Linked DNA regions of Homo sapiens: regions 1 and 2 are each linked to region 3. The links are contacts of gene promoters, found by promoter capture Hi-C in human tissues and cell types (Jung and others, 2019). All regions are on one chromosome and are shown on one strand. Each heading gives the region's core, a stretch centred on a gene start or on the middle of the fragment in contact. The rest is flanking DNA. Distances are from core to core; before and after follow the strand shown. Region 1 holds the start of ALOX15 (arachidonate 15-lipoxygenase). Region 2 overlaps KIF1C (kinesin family member 1C). Region 3 holds the start of VMO1 (vitelline membrane outer layer 1 homolog).

The links. The method cuts DNA at HindIII sites, captures the fragments that hold promoters and counts their contacts. A contact is called where the count stands out against the background at its distance.
Region 1: the fragment with the promoter of ALOX15 here is called in contact with the fragment with the promoter of VMO1 in region 3 in 1 of the 25 tissues and cell types used here (adrenal gland).
Region 2: a fragment that was not itself captured here is called in contact with the fragment with the promoter of VMO1 in region 3 in 1 of the 25 tissues and cell types used here (stomach).

What each region holds. Positions count from the first base shown.
Region 1 is chr17:4,639,971-4,644,392 of GRCh38, reverse strand. It overlaps ALOX15 (arachidonate 15-lipoxygenase), which reads left to right and starts at 2,715. Exons shown (of 14, transcript NM_001140.5): 1 at 2,715-2,876. The coding sequence starts at 2,742. The HindIII fragment of the contact is 22,491 bases long and covers 1-4,422 here.
Region 2 is chr17:5,008,543-5,013,137 of GRCh38, reverse strand. The region is part of intron 16 of KIF1C (kinesin family member 1C); the gene reads right to left. Among named protein-coding and RNA genes, the nearest start is that of KIF1C-AS1, 9.3 kb to the left of the region's middle. RefSeq lists a silencer at 842-901. The HindIII fragment of the contact is 9,299 bases long and covers 1-4,595 here.
Region 3 is chr17:4,783,543-4,787,883 of GRCh38, reverse strand. VMO1 (vitelline membrane outer layer 1 homolog) reads left to right here and starts at 1,520. Exons shown (of 3, transcript NM_182566.3): 1 at 1,520-1,726; 2 at 1,832-1,947; 3 at 2,225-2,599. The coding sequence starts at 1,532. The coding sequence ends at 2,522. The HindIII fragment of the contact is 14,296 bases long and covers 1-4,341 here.

The DNA of each region.
Region 1 (4,422 bases), core at 1,466-3,965, 140 kb after region 3:
AAAAGCTCAACTTTACTCATAATAAGGGTAATGCAAATTAAAATTAAAACTAGGGTACCATTTTTCACCTATCCGATTGGCTAAGGTAAGGTTATGAACACACCATTGGCAAGAGTGAGGAAGAATGGGCATTCTCATACACAGTCCACTGGTGGGAGTCTAAATCAGTACAACTTTCTACAGAGGGCAATTGAGCAGTTTCTGCCTAAATTCGATATGCTTTTGGTCCAGAAATTCTATCTCCAGGGTTTTGTTCTACAGAGATACTTTCATACGAGAAATGCTGTATATGCGAGGTTTATTTCTTTCAGCACTTTTTCATAGCTACAAAAGATTACTAATAACCTGTGTCCACTACAAGAGACTAGTAGAATTTATGGCGTTACAGCAAATGGCAGCCTTAGCAAAGAACAAGGAAGCTCTTTATGCATGGATATGGAATGACCTCCTGTTGCACTATGGAAAAACGAGATGCAGAATAAGGCATGCTACAATGTGCAGAAAAAGACAAAGATAGGCGTGTATTTGCTCAGTAATATTAGTGCACAGAAGAGACTGGTAACTGTGATTGCTGGGAGTGGAGCAACTGGGTGGCTTGGGGCCAAGAGGAGGGAGAAACTAGTGAATATCACTTTGTACCTTTTGAATTTTGAATCACATGAATGTACTTCCCAGTAAACAATTAAGCAGGGCCGGACATGATGGCTCATGGCTGTAATCCCAGCACTTGGGGAGGCCGAGGCAGGTGGATCACTTGAGGTCAGGAGTTCAAGACCAGCCTGGCCAACATGGTGAAACCCCATCTCGACTGAAAATACAAAAAGTAGCCGGGCATGTTGGTGGGTGCCTGTAATCCCAGCTACTCTGGAGGCTGAGGCAGGAGAATCGCTTGAACCCGGCAGGTGGAGGTTGCAGTGAGCCGAGATCACACCACTGTACTCTAGCCCGGGCAACAGAGCAAGACTCCATCTCATTAAAAAAAAAAACACCAAAAACAAAAAACAAGCAAACCAGAAAATATGCATCACAGACATATTTTCGTGGACTTCATTTGTGTTACCAGGCTGATTGTAATCCATGCCATGAAGTTTATGTTAGTATTCCCCTTTTGTTTACATTGCCTGATAATTTGTTTCCCTTTGTCTCCCCCAAGGGAAGCATTCATTTATAATGAATTTTTCAGCTCAGTGTGTTTCAGCAAACACTTATTGACACCCACAAACCCTGACACTGTGCCGTCTCCAGGGGAAACAAAAGTGAGAGTCCTGCTGGGTGTGTAGTCCCTGCCTAGGACGGGCTCACATTAGTGGGGGATACACACATACAAATGCTCACACTGCAGTATTAACTGTGCAACAGTAGAAGTGTGCGCAAGGAGAAAAGTGTTAGAAAGGAAAGCTGGGCCGGGCGCCGTGGCTCACACCTGTAATTCCAGCACTTTGGGAGACTGAGGTGGGTGGATCACAAGGTCAGGAGTTCAAGACCAGCGTGGCCAACATGGAGAAACCCCGTCTCTACTAAAAATACAAAAATTATCCAGGCATGGTGGCAGGCGCCTGTAATCCCAGCTACTCGGAAGGCTGAGGCAGAGAATTGCTTGAGCCCGGGAGGCAGAGGTTGCCGTGAGCCGAGATCGTGCCATTGCACTCCACCCTGCATTCCAGGGTGACAGAGTGAGACTCTATATCTCAAAAAAAAAAAAAAAAGGAAAGCTAATTCACTCTGGTGGGGTGGTGGGGGGTGAAAGTACCGGGTAAGACTTTCCTGAGAAACCGGAGGTGAACTAGGGTTTAGAAGCATGAATAGATGAATAGACTAATCCAGGAGCAAGTTCTTTTGAGAGAACAGCAGGTGGGGTTCTGGGGAACACATGGCTCCAGCCCAAAAAGAAACTGGAGACGAATTAGGGTTTAGAAGCATGACCAGACTAACCCAGAAGTGAGTTCTTTGAGAGAACAGCAGGGGCGGCGGGGGGAGGGGGGGTTCCGGGGAACACATGGCTCCAGCACAGGAGATGCCAGGGTGCAGTGGGATGAGAGGTGAGGAGAGCAGGTCAGGTTAGCAAGGGCATTGAATGCCAGAAACATTTGGACTTTTATTCTGCAGGCAACAGGGAGGCAGCGGCTTTTATGCTCAAAAGGAATGAGTCCCAGTGGCTGGCACAGAGAAGGCAAGTGTGCAAAGCTGGTCGAATGAATTCCGTGGCCTGAATGTACCTTCCTCAAATGCCACTGCAAACTGGGTCTCCTCGCCCACTTCACCCTCTCCTGCAATCCAACTTGTGAGGCTTGTGTGTGCGCGCGCGTGTCCTTGCGTGTGTGTGTGTGTGCACGCGTGCGTTTAGATGGAGGTTGGCTTCCCAGCCACCCAGGCTTGGCCCAAAGTCCGTGGTACACACGTGCATAACTCCTACCCCCACCTCGCCTGCCTGCTGTACCAGGCGTTGATTCCCTCTTCCTGCGTGTTTTCGGTCCAAATCCTTTTCTTTTTCTCCCTCCCGTCAAGATAGTGGTTTCCACTCCCTGCTCTCGCCAGGACACCGCCTTTTGGACTGGGGCTGAATTCTGCCCCTTGAAGCTCTGCTCCTTGGAGCTGGGGGCCCCAGCGGTAGGCGGAGTTGATTGGAGACCTGCCACCCACATTCCGACCCCAAGCGACCTCCGAGAGGGCGGGGTCTCAGGCTGGGTTATTTAGCTCGTCCACCCTTCTCCACCAGAAGGAGCGAAACATCTTTGAGCAAGATGGGTCTCTACCGCATCCGCGTGTCCACTGGGGCCTCGCTCTATGCCGGTTCCAACAACCAGGTGCAGCTGTGGCTGGTCGGCCAGCACGGGGAGGCGGCGCTCGGGAAGCGACTGTGGCCCGCACGGGGCAAGGTGAGCTCCCCAGAGCCGGGCGGGGTGGGCTGCGCCCCTGGCTCCGAGTCAGTCAAATACCGGGGAGGACATGCGCCCCCGTTGGCCTCTGGCCGATTCTCTTTGCCAAGGGCCCGCGCATTGGGCTCAAAGCGCGCGGAGGCCACGGGGGTGGGGGGCTTTAGGGCAGTCGGTGGCACACAGTAAGCGCTCAATAAATGTTGCCGCTACCCGATCTCCTTGGAATTGAGGGCATGCTCCTGTGCGCCCCTCATTGCACAAAGCTCCCTTGTCTGGAAACTCAGCAGTCACTGGAGCCGCCGTCGGTCCTCTCGCTTTCTCTATTTTAAAAACCGTTTCAACCGCTAGCGCTGTTGGATCTCTACCTTTCAGGCTTTATCACCTGGGGTGGAGTGGGTGGTGAGAGGGAAGGGATGGGGAGTCAAGACAGGAGAACGCTCTCGATTTCCCGACCCACCTCCCGTCATATCTCATGTCACATCTACCGGGTGTTCTACCCGGTCCTGTTAACTTTTTTTCTTCCGCGAAAGCCCAAATTCCCATCACTGCTCTAGCTCTCTCCCAGATCCCCAAATCCGGATGTCTGTCTCAGGGAACGTCAAAGCAACATGCCCGGATGAGGTCCTCCCCTCTCCCCACCTCCCAGCCCTCTCCTCCTGCCTCCCCCGGTGTCACCCGCGCCTCCTTCCTCTCTTCACCTCCCTCTAAACAAGAATCCGGCGCAGTCAGTTCTAGACCCTGAGCATCTCCCGCGTCCCTGCCCAATATCCGTCCCGCCCCCGACCGCCCGCGTCCTCTTGAACCTGCGGAGCCCTGCTCCCCGCACTCCACGCCCTTGCTCCGAGCTTCCGAGAAAGCGGGGCAAAGGGAGCCAGGAAGAGAGAAAATGCGCACGGAGCAGGTGGCCCCGCGACTCCATGGTGAGGGGACGGGGCACGGAAGGTGGAAAGGCGCGCTCCCTCCTCCCTTTTTTCCTCCCTATGGTGGGCAGTTGGTGACACACAGTAAAGGCTCAATAAATGTTCCCGCTACTCGATCTCCTTGGAATTAAGGGGATGCTCCTGAGCGCCCCTCATTCCACACAGCTCTGGTGCCTGGAAACTGCGGTCGCCGGAGCGGTCGTCGGTCCTCCCGGTTTCTCTATTTTAAAAGCCATTTCAAACCTCCAGCGGCCTCGCCACCTCTGCTGCAGACCTTCCAAGCCCTTCTGAAGCCGGAATGATTTCTCCCTAATTCACTCCCCCTGCTTAACACATTCGAACGGCTCCCGCTTGTTCTCGGGACCAAATCCAAAGCCCCTGGCGCCACCTTCGAGAGCCTCCGGACCTGCTGACCCCCCACACCTGGGCTCTGAGCTCCAGCTCCAAGATGCTGCTCGCCCTCCCTTCCCCGCCGCTCTCTTTCTGCGCGCCTTTCCCCTGCCTTCCCTTTCTGTCACTCTCCCTGGCTGAGCCCTCTCCGCCTCCAGGTCTCCGGGAAGGTTGTCCCCAGGCCGGTGGGGCCCCTGCAGGTCCTCAGCCTCGGGCGGGGTGGGGTGGGGGGTCGC
Region 2 (4,595 bases), core at 1,392-3,891, 220 kb before region 3:
CATGAATTACTTTCACAATTTAAAAATAAAAAGTGTCACTTCAACTTAAAAGCAAATGGAACAAACATGTTTCTCGAAGCAGACTCATTGACTCTTCCCCAGTGACTACCCCTCCCTGGGCTGCTTCACCTCAAGCCTGGGTCCCTGCAGCACCCGCCTGGGGCTGTCCCTGCCTAAGGCCCCCAGCCAAGTCCATCCTGAACACCTGAGTGATTGTTACGCTGCTCTGTGCTGAAAACCCGGCCCATTCCCTTCTCCCACAGCACCTTCTCCTGACTTGTTTCCATTATAACAGCCCTGCCCTTGCTGGGCAGTACTCTGGATGGCGTACAGGCGACGCTGCCTCTGTACCCCCATTCATGCCACTGCTGCCACGCCTGGGGAAGTCTCCCTTCCTGCCAGCTGCTGCCGTGCCACACACCTCTCCATCCCTCGGCACCACCCTGCACCAGGCCCACCTGCCTTCCTGCCACCCCTTAGGTCTCCCAGCTTCCTGCCCACACCTCGCTATGGCCATGTCTTTGCCTCTCTGCTGAGACCTCTCCAGCTGGAACCCCAGGCCCGCTGGACTTGAGCCTACTTTTTCCCCTGGCATCCCTGGGCCTCCTCCATGTCCCGGCTCCAGTCCATCTGTCCAAGCCCCCCTCCCAGGCTCTCTCCCAGACTCTGTACTTCCACTCAGCGGACCCCTGAGCACTCCCTCCAAAGTAGGCCTCCTGCATCCCTGACTGCCAATGTCCCCAACAACAGACCGCCTCCCGCCCCGCCCCCACCTGCCAAAATCATTCACTTCCTTCACGTTCCTCCCAGTCTGTCTGAAATGCAACTTCCTCCGGGAAGTTTTCCTAAGCCTTCCATCAGAACACAAGACCCCTGCCTCTGCTGCAGAAGGACTGACTGTGGCCTTTCTACCTCACCCTGGTGAAGCGCTAGGCGGGGTACAGAGATGAGTCAAGCCCAGGCACTGCTGTCCAGTCAGTCAGGAAATGAGAGTCAGCTAGGGGAGGTGAGGCTTGGCGTGGAAACACCATTACAAGTGGGAAACGGATGCCTCATGGAGGAGTTTCTGATTGTCTCATGCCCTTGTTTAAGTTCGTTTATTCATTCATTTGTTCCCAGGGGGTTGAGTGCCACTGTGTTCTGGGAGGGACTCACATGCAAAGAGGAACAAAGTGAAGAACTATGGGATTTCAAGGGGATCAGGAGGACTTAATGGAAGGGTAACATGGGAGCCAGCCTTTGAGGACAAGGAGGGCGTGGACATGCACAAGAGCGCTCCGGGTGAAAGCAGCCTGGACAGAAGCATGGAGGCAGAAAGCACAGGGTACAGAAGGGAAACAGCACGGAGTCGAACCTCTATTTCTCTGGGAGCCACTTAACACTCAGAGCCCAAAGCTGTGTCCCCCAGAGGTGTCTGTGTATCTTGTGCATCCGCCCTTCACCCAAGTGCTCCAAGGATCACTCCTGCGACACTTCTCCTGAGGGACTCCCATGCCCCTCCCTACACTGCAGTGTCAGGCCTGCTCTGGGACTGGCAAACGCTGATGGGCTCCGGAAGCAGAAAGCAATCTATCCCTGGGGAGAGGGAACACGATTTGAGGCGGTGCTTTTCAACTTTTTCTTCAGCCCTATAACTCTTTGTTCAAAATGAAACCTTCTCTAGAAGCCTAGGACATCAAGCAGATAAGCAAGAAGCTGCTCAGGCCCAGGCTGGGGGTGAGAGCCCCAGGGTCTGGTCCTGTCCCTATCCTCAGCCCCTGAGAAGGCAGCTCAGAACCAGGTTTGAACACCACTGATTTAAGCAATCCTTAGCCCTGGTGGTGGGGGTCTTAGCAAGAGGAGGCTCCCTCCAAGACAAACTGTAGTTTTTTCCTCTAAGACCCAACTATTCCCTGTTGGAGCTACTCACACCAAACCCATTTCCCCATGAGTCTAACAGTTCTCTCTTCTGGCTTTAGACCACATGGCTTTTAAACATGAGAAGAGTTCATCCTCACCACCTTGAGAAAAATGTAAAAGTGAACTACCTTAAGACACCTTCTCACCAATCACACAGGCAAAGAGAAAAGTCTTACTAAGCCAGAATGTGGGAAAGGGCGAGGGGAAATGGGCTCTCTTGTATGTTACCCTTGGGAGTATAAATTGGTATGGTTCAAAAAATTAGCCAGGAGTGGTGGTGGGCGCCTGTAGTCCCAGCTACTTGGGAGGCTGAGGCAGGAGAATGGCGTGAACCCGGGAGGCGGAGCTTGCAGTGGGCCGAGATTGCACCACTGCACTCCAGCCTGGGCAACACAGCAAGACTCCATCTCAAAAAAGTAAAATAAATTGGTATGGTTATAATCTTCAGAGGGCACTTTGGCAATATAGATTAAAAAAAAAATTTTTTTTTTTGAGACGGAGTCTCGCTCTGTCACCTGGGCTGGAGTGCAGTGGCATGATCTCGGCTCACTGCAAGCTCCGCCTCCCGGGTTCACGCCATTCTCCTGCCTCAGCCTCCCAAGTAGCTGGGACTACAGGTGCCCGCCACCACGCCCGGCTAATTTTTTCTATTTTAGTAGAGATGGGGTTTCACCTTGTTAGCCAGGATGGTCTCGATCTCCTGACCTCGTGATCCGCCCGCCTCGGCCTCCCAAAGTGCTGGGATTACAGGCGTGAGCCACCGCACCCGGCCTAGATTAAAATTTTACATGGCTACCATTTGACCCAAAATCTCCATTTCTAGGAATCTGCTCTACAGATAACACCCATTTGTAAGACTATGCATTGTAGCCTTTTTTTGTAGTATCAAGGAATGGGAAACAATCTGAATGTCCATCAGTGGGAAGCTGGTTAAATACATTATCCTACATCTACACAATAGAATACCCTGACACCGTGAAAAAAATAAAGGAAGCTTTAAAATAAGGTATGCAGGCCAAGCACAGTAGCTCACACCTGTAATACCAGCACTTCAGGAGGCCAAGGCCAGTGCATCATTTGAGGCCAGGAGTTTGAGACCAGCCTGGCCAACATGGCGAAACCCTGTCTCTACTAAAATACAAAAATTAGCCCGGCGTGGTGGTGGGTGCCTGTAATCCCAGCTACTTGGGAGGCTGAGGCATGAGAATCACTTGAACCTGGGAGGCAGAGTTTGCACTGAGCTGAGATTGTGCCACTGCACTCCAGCCTGGGCGACAGAGTGTGACTCTTGTCTCAAAATAAATAAATAAAATAGATATGCAACTACAACTATTAGAGAGGCCGTGAATGTGAGTAAATGTGTATAGTTCTATATAACATATGCCTGTACATGTGTTATAACATCTCCTAGACAGCATCTCTAGGAGAACATTTTTTCTTTTTTTTTTTTTTGAGACAGAGTCTTGTCTGTCACCCAGGCTGGAGTGCAGTGGTGCGATCTCAGCTCACTGCAACCTCTGCCTCCCGGGTTCATGTCATTCTACTGCCTCAGCCTCCCTAGTAGCTGGGACTACAGGCGCCCGCCAGCACACGTGGCTAATTTTTTGTATTTGTAGTAGAGACGGGGTTTCACTGTGTTAGCCAGGATGGTCTCAATCTCCTGACCTCGTGATCCACCCGCCTTGGCCTCCCAAAGTGCTAGGATTACAGGTGTGAGCCACCAGGCCCGACCCAAGGAGAATATAGTAAGAACCCATAATGGGCCTGGCACGGTGGCTCACACCTGTAACCCCAGCACTTTGGGACTCCGAAGTGGGTGGATCACGAGGTCAGAAGTTCAAGACCACTCCGGCCAACATAGTGAACCCCATCTCTACTAAAAATACAAAATATTAGCCGGGTGTGATGGTGTGCGCCTGTAATCCCAGCTACTTGGGAGGCTGAGGCAGAAGAATCGTATGAACCCAGGAGGCGGAGGTTGCAGTCAGCCAAGATTGCACCGTTGCACTCCAGCCCGGGTGACAGTACAAGACCCCGTCTCAAAAAAAAAAAGAACTCATAATGAAGGCTGCCTCTGAGGGGAAACTTAAGGGTGGGAAGGATGGAGAGTTACTTTTTTTTTTTTTCTATAACAAAATGCTGTAAATTGGAGACTTTTCACTGTACACACCTTTTAGAACTATTAGAATGTTCTCTCTGGTGTGTATTACCTTTATAAGAACAATTAAAACAAGAACCCCCTCCTTTGGTCCCCAGGCTTTGGCAGGTGGCATCTCTGCAAGCTCTCCAAGGAAGAAACCTCCACCCCACCAGTCTCCCCAGTCCTTTCTGCTTTTCCTCCATCCTTGCAACCGTGGTGGAAGCGGCCCAGCTCCAGGTATACAAAGGTGGCTGGAAGCCATGCTGAGCGCATCCGTAGCCCCTCTTTCCACCTAGGTGTGGCTGGGTCCCAGAAGAGTCTGGATCCCTCAGAAGGACCCCAAAGCCCCAGGGTACCCAGCCCCAGACAAGACCCCAGACACGCAGCCTGGCCTACCGCCCACAGCTCTTTCACTCCCTCAATGTGGCTTGGGCCAGGCAAGGCAAAACCCCTCTCCTCTTTTCAGAACAGGGGTTCAGTGATCCCTGCTTGCTTAGTCCCCCAGATGGACCTGACTTTACAAAACAGAGAGGAGCCTTCTTCTGGTAACCCATCA
Region 3 (4,341 bases), core at 271-2,770:
TGTATGAGGGGCAGGTAAATCTGGGGTTGTGGCCCCTAACAAATTTAGCCAGGCATTTTTAGGCCAGGCACGGTGGCTCACGCCTGTAATCCCAGCACTTTGGGAGGCCGAGGTGGGCGGATCACCTGAGGTCAGCCTGGCTAACATGGCAACACCCCGTCTCTACTAAAAATATACAAATTAGCCGGGCGTGGTGGCGAACGCCTATAATCCCAGCTACTCGGGAGGTTAAGGGAAGAGAATCGCTTGAACCCGGGAGGCAGAGGTTGCAGTGAGCCGAGATGGCGTCACTGCACTCCAACCTGGGCAACAGAGTGAGACTTCGTCTCAAAACAAACAAACAAACAAACAAACAAAAAACATACTTAGCCAGATTTTCTCGCTTTTTGTTTTGCAAATTAGGAGTCCATCTGGTGGTCACAGGGGGAAAGGCATTCCAGGAAAGGATATAAGGATACAGAAAGCAATGGAAGAAACAGCATGATCTTTTCTTAGGGGTTCTTAGTCTCCTGTCCCCAAACTTCTTAGAGTTATTCCTGTTGGACCGGGCGCGGTGGCTCATGCCTGTAATCCCAGCACTTTGGGAGGCCGAGGCAGGCGGATCACAAGGTCAAGAGATAGAGACCATCCTGGCCAACACGGTGAAACCCGGTCTCTACTAAAAATACAAAAATTAGCGGGGCGGCGTCTTGGCGCGCGCCTGTAGTCCCAGCTACTCGGGAGGCTGAGGCAGGAGAATCGCTTGAACCCAGGAGGTGGAGGTAGCAGTGAGCCGAGATCGCGCCACTGCGATGCCGCCACTGGGCGACAGAGTGAGACTTCGACTCAAAAAATAAAAATAAAAAAGAATTATTTCTGTTTGTATATGTCTTCTTCTAAGGTAGGGAGGAGTGTCCCGGATTCTCAAGGTGTTAGGGCCCTGAGCTCTCAGAAGACCTCTCAGAGGAGGAAGAGACTTCTGAGCTGACAGGAGTTTTCTCAGCTTCTCCAGTTCGAGGATTCTTGTCCTATCCTCACTCTGATGTCCCCTCACATCCTGGAGGTCTCTGGGTTGCTCTTGCCCCATCCCGTCACTGGTGGGACTCCCGGGAGGTCACTTCCATCCCTAGCCCTGGTCTCTGCTCTGTCTCCACTCTCACTGCTGGAATGTTTCCCAGCTTGCTTGGCTGTAAACCTAAGGCAAGTTGCTTGCCATTTTTGAGCCAGTTCCCTCATCTACAAAATAGGAAGGATAATTCTCACCCCCCAAAAATTGTTGTGAGGGTTAAACAAAATACTGCAAAGCGCTAACCATAATTCGTAGCCTATAGTAAATATTCAGTAGGTGATGGTTATTTTAATTCGCCCTCTCTCACTGCCCCTCCTACCCTAGCTCTGGGAGCCTCTGCCTCCGGGAGCAGGAAATAGGGTTCCGGGAGTGGATTAGTTTTGGGTTTCACTTAATCTGGGAGGCCCTTCCGCAATCGGAGCCCTCACAGAGGCCAAACTGATATAAATCTGCTTAGGAGGCCTGATTCACAGACGCTACAGGATGGAGCGGGGCGCAGGAGCCAAGCTGCTGCCGCTGCTGCTGCTTCTGCGGGCGACTGGTTTCACATGTGCACAGACAGATGGCCGGAACGGCTACACGGCGGTCATCGAAGTGACCAGCGGGGGTCCCTGGGGCGACTGGGCCTGGCCTGAGATGTGTCCCGATGGATTCTTCGCCAGCGGGTTCTCGCTCAAGGTTGGGGCTCAGGCGTAGGTCCTGGAGAGGGCGGAGATGCGTGGGACCATAGAGCCAAGGATGATAATTCCGTGACTCGCCCTTGCCCCTCTCCTCGATACCCAGGTGGAGCCTCCCCAAGGCATTCCTGGCGACGACACTGCACTGAATGGGATCAGGCTGCACTGCGCGCGCGGGAACGTCCTAGGCAATACGCACGTGGTAGAGTCCCAGTCTGGAAGGTGGGGCGCAGGGGTCGAGGATCCCTTGGGGTGATGGTATGTCCCTTACCCTCTATTACATACTCCGTCGCAACAGGCAGGCTGGCTCCGCCAGAGCTACGGGGCAGTATAGACCGGGGAGGCGAAGGGTGGATGGAAGACCCCTCCTCCGCTCCTCGGCGGAGGTCGGGGAGCACCCAGCCCACCAGGTCATATACACAGCACTTGGCTTGGAAAGTCTCAAGGGCTTGGTGAATGGGGGGCCCGCAGAGGCAACGCATCTCCCTTTGCCTTGCAGCTGGGGCGAATGGAGTGAGCCGCTGTGGTGTCGCGGCGGCGCCTACCTAGTGGCTTTCTCGCTTCGCGTGGAGGCACCCACGACCCTCGGTGACAACACAGCAGCGAACAACGTGCGCTTCCGCTGTTCAGACGGCGAGGAACTGCAGGGGCCTGGGCTGAGCTGGGGAGACTTTGGAGACTGGAGTGACCATTGCCCCAAGGGCGCGTGCGGCCTGCAGACCAAGATCCAGGGACCTAGAGGCCTCGGCGATGACACTGCGCTGAACGACGCGCGCTTATTCTGCTGCCGCAGTTGAACGGCGCCGCCGCCGCCGCTCTCTCCCGGGCCAGGAGGCTAGTCCCACCTCTTGCTATTAAAGCTTCTCTGAGTTGACTTTGGTCTCGCCTGTTTATTTCATTTATTTATTTATTAATTTATTTATTTGAGACGGAGTATCGCTCTGTCCCCCAGGCTGGAGTGCAGTGGCTCACTCGGCTCACTGCAAGCTCTGCCTCCCGGGTTCACGCCGTTCTCCTGCCTCAGCCTCCCGAGTAGCTGGGACTACAGGCGCCCGCCACTACGCCCGGCTAATTTTTTTTTTTTTTTTTTGTATTTTTAGTAGAGACGGGGTTTCACCGTGTTAGCCAGGATGGTCTCGATCTCCTGACCTCATGATCCGCCCACCTTGGCCTCCCAAAGTGCTGGGATTACAGGCGTGAGACACCATGCCCGGCTGGTCTCGCCTGTTTAAGGGATGGGGAACTGAGTCTCCTTTTCCCCTCCTAACTTAGCATTAGGTGAGGCATACATTTGGATTTGGTCTCAGGGGTCTATGGTAGATTGCTGAAAAGTTATGGACTCGAGAAAAACGCACTTAAACAGATAATTTTCAGACAAGTGATGGAAGTCTGGCTTTTTTTTTTTTTTTTTTTTTTGGAGTCTCACTCTGTCACTCAGGCTGGAGTGCAGTGGTATGATCTTGGCTCACTGCAACTTCCACCTCCTGGGTTCAAACGATTCTTCTGCCTCAGCCTCCTGAGTAGTTGGGACTACTGGTACCCACCACCATGCCCAGCTAATTTTTGTATTTTTAGTAGAGATGGAGTTTCCCCATGTTGGCCAAGCTGGTCTCAAACTCCTGACCTCAAGTGATCCACTGGCTTCAGCCTTCCAAAGTTTTGGGATTACCGGCTTGCACCATCGTGCGGGCCCAGGAAGTCTGGCTTTCTGAGAGAGTCTGCAGACACCCTGCCCCCATTAGGTGCCTAGGTTGTCTCCTTTCTGAACCAGTGACCTAAGATTAAGAAAATTCTACCAAATTATGGCCAGATGTGGTGGCTCACAGCTGTAATCTCAGCACTCTGGGAGGCTGAGGTGGGTGGATTGTTTAAGCTCAGCAGTTGGAGACCAGCCTGGGCAACATGGTGAAATCCCCTCTCTACAAAAAGTACAAAAATTAGCAGGGGTATGGTGGTGTGCGCCTGTAGTCCCAGCTACTCAGGAGGCAGAGGCAGGAGGATTGCTTTAGCCCAGGAGGTGGAGGCTGCAATGAGCCGAGATCGTGCCACTGCACTCCAGCCTGAGTGACAAAGTGAGACCCTGTCAAAAAAAGCAAAAAAAAAAAATTCTATCAAATTAGGAGGTGACAAGGCCACAATGGCTTTACAGTTCCATTTTCTAGAGCTTAAGAGGTTACAGTGTCTTTTCCATAGTTTTCATTATTTTCTCCTACAGAACTGATCCCTGTTTAGGATCTTTGTCCTTGCTGTTCTCTCTGCCTATAATCCCCCAAATATCCAGATGGTTAGCAAGCCTTCCTGATCTTAGCTCAAATTTCATTTTCTCAAATTTTCCCTGTCATAAAAGAGAGTCTCTCCATAAGTCAATATCAATCCCATTACCAACATGCTTTTAAAAAGTGCTTATCGGCCACGCACGGTGGCTCAAGCCTGTAATCCCAATACTTTGGGAGCCTGAAGTGGGAGGATTACTTTTGCTCAGGAGTTCGAGACCAGCCTGGGCAACCTCGTCTCTACAAAAAATACAAAAAAGTTAGCAAGGCATGGTGGCATATGCCTATGGTCCCAGCTACTTGGGAGGCTGAGACGGGAGGATTGCTTGAGCCCAGGAGGTGG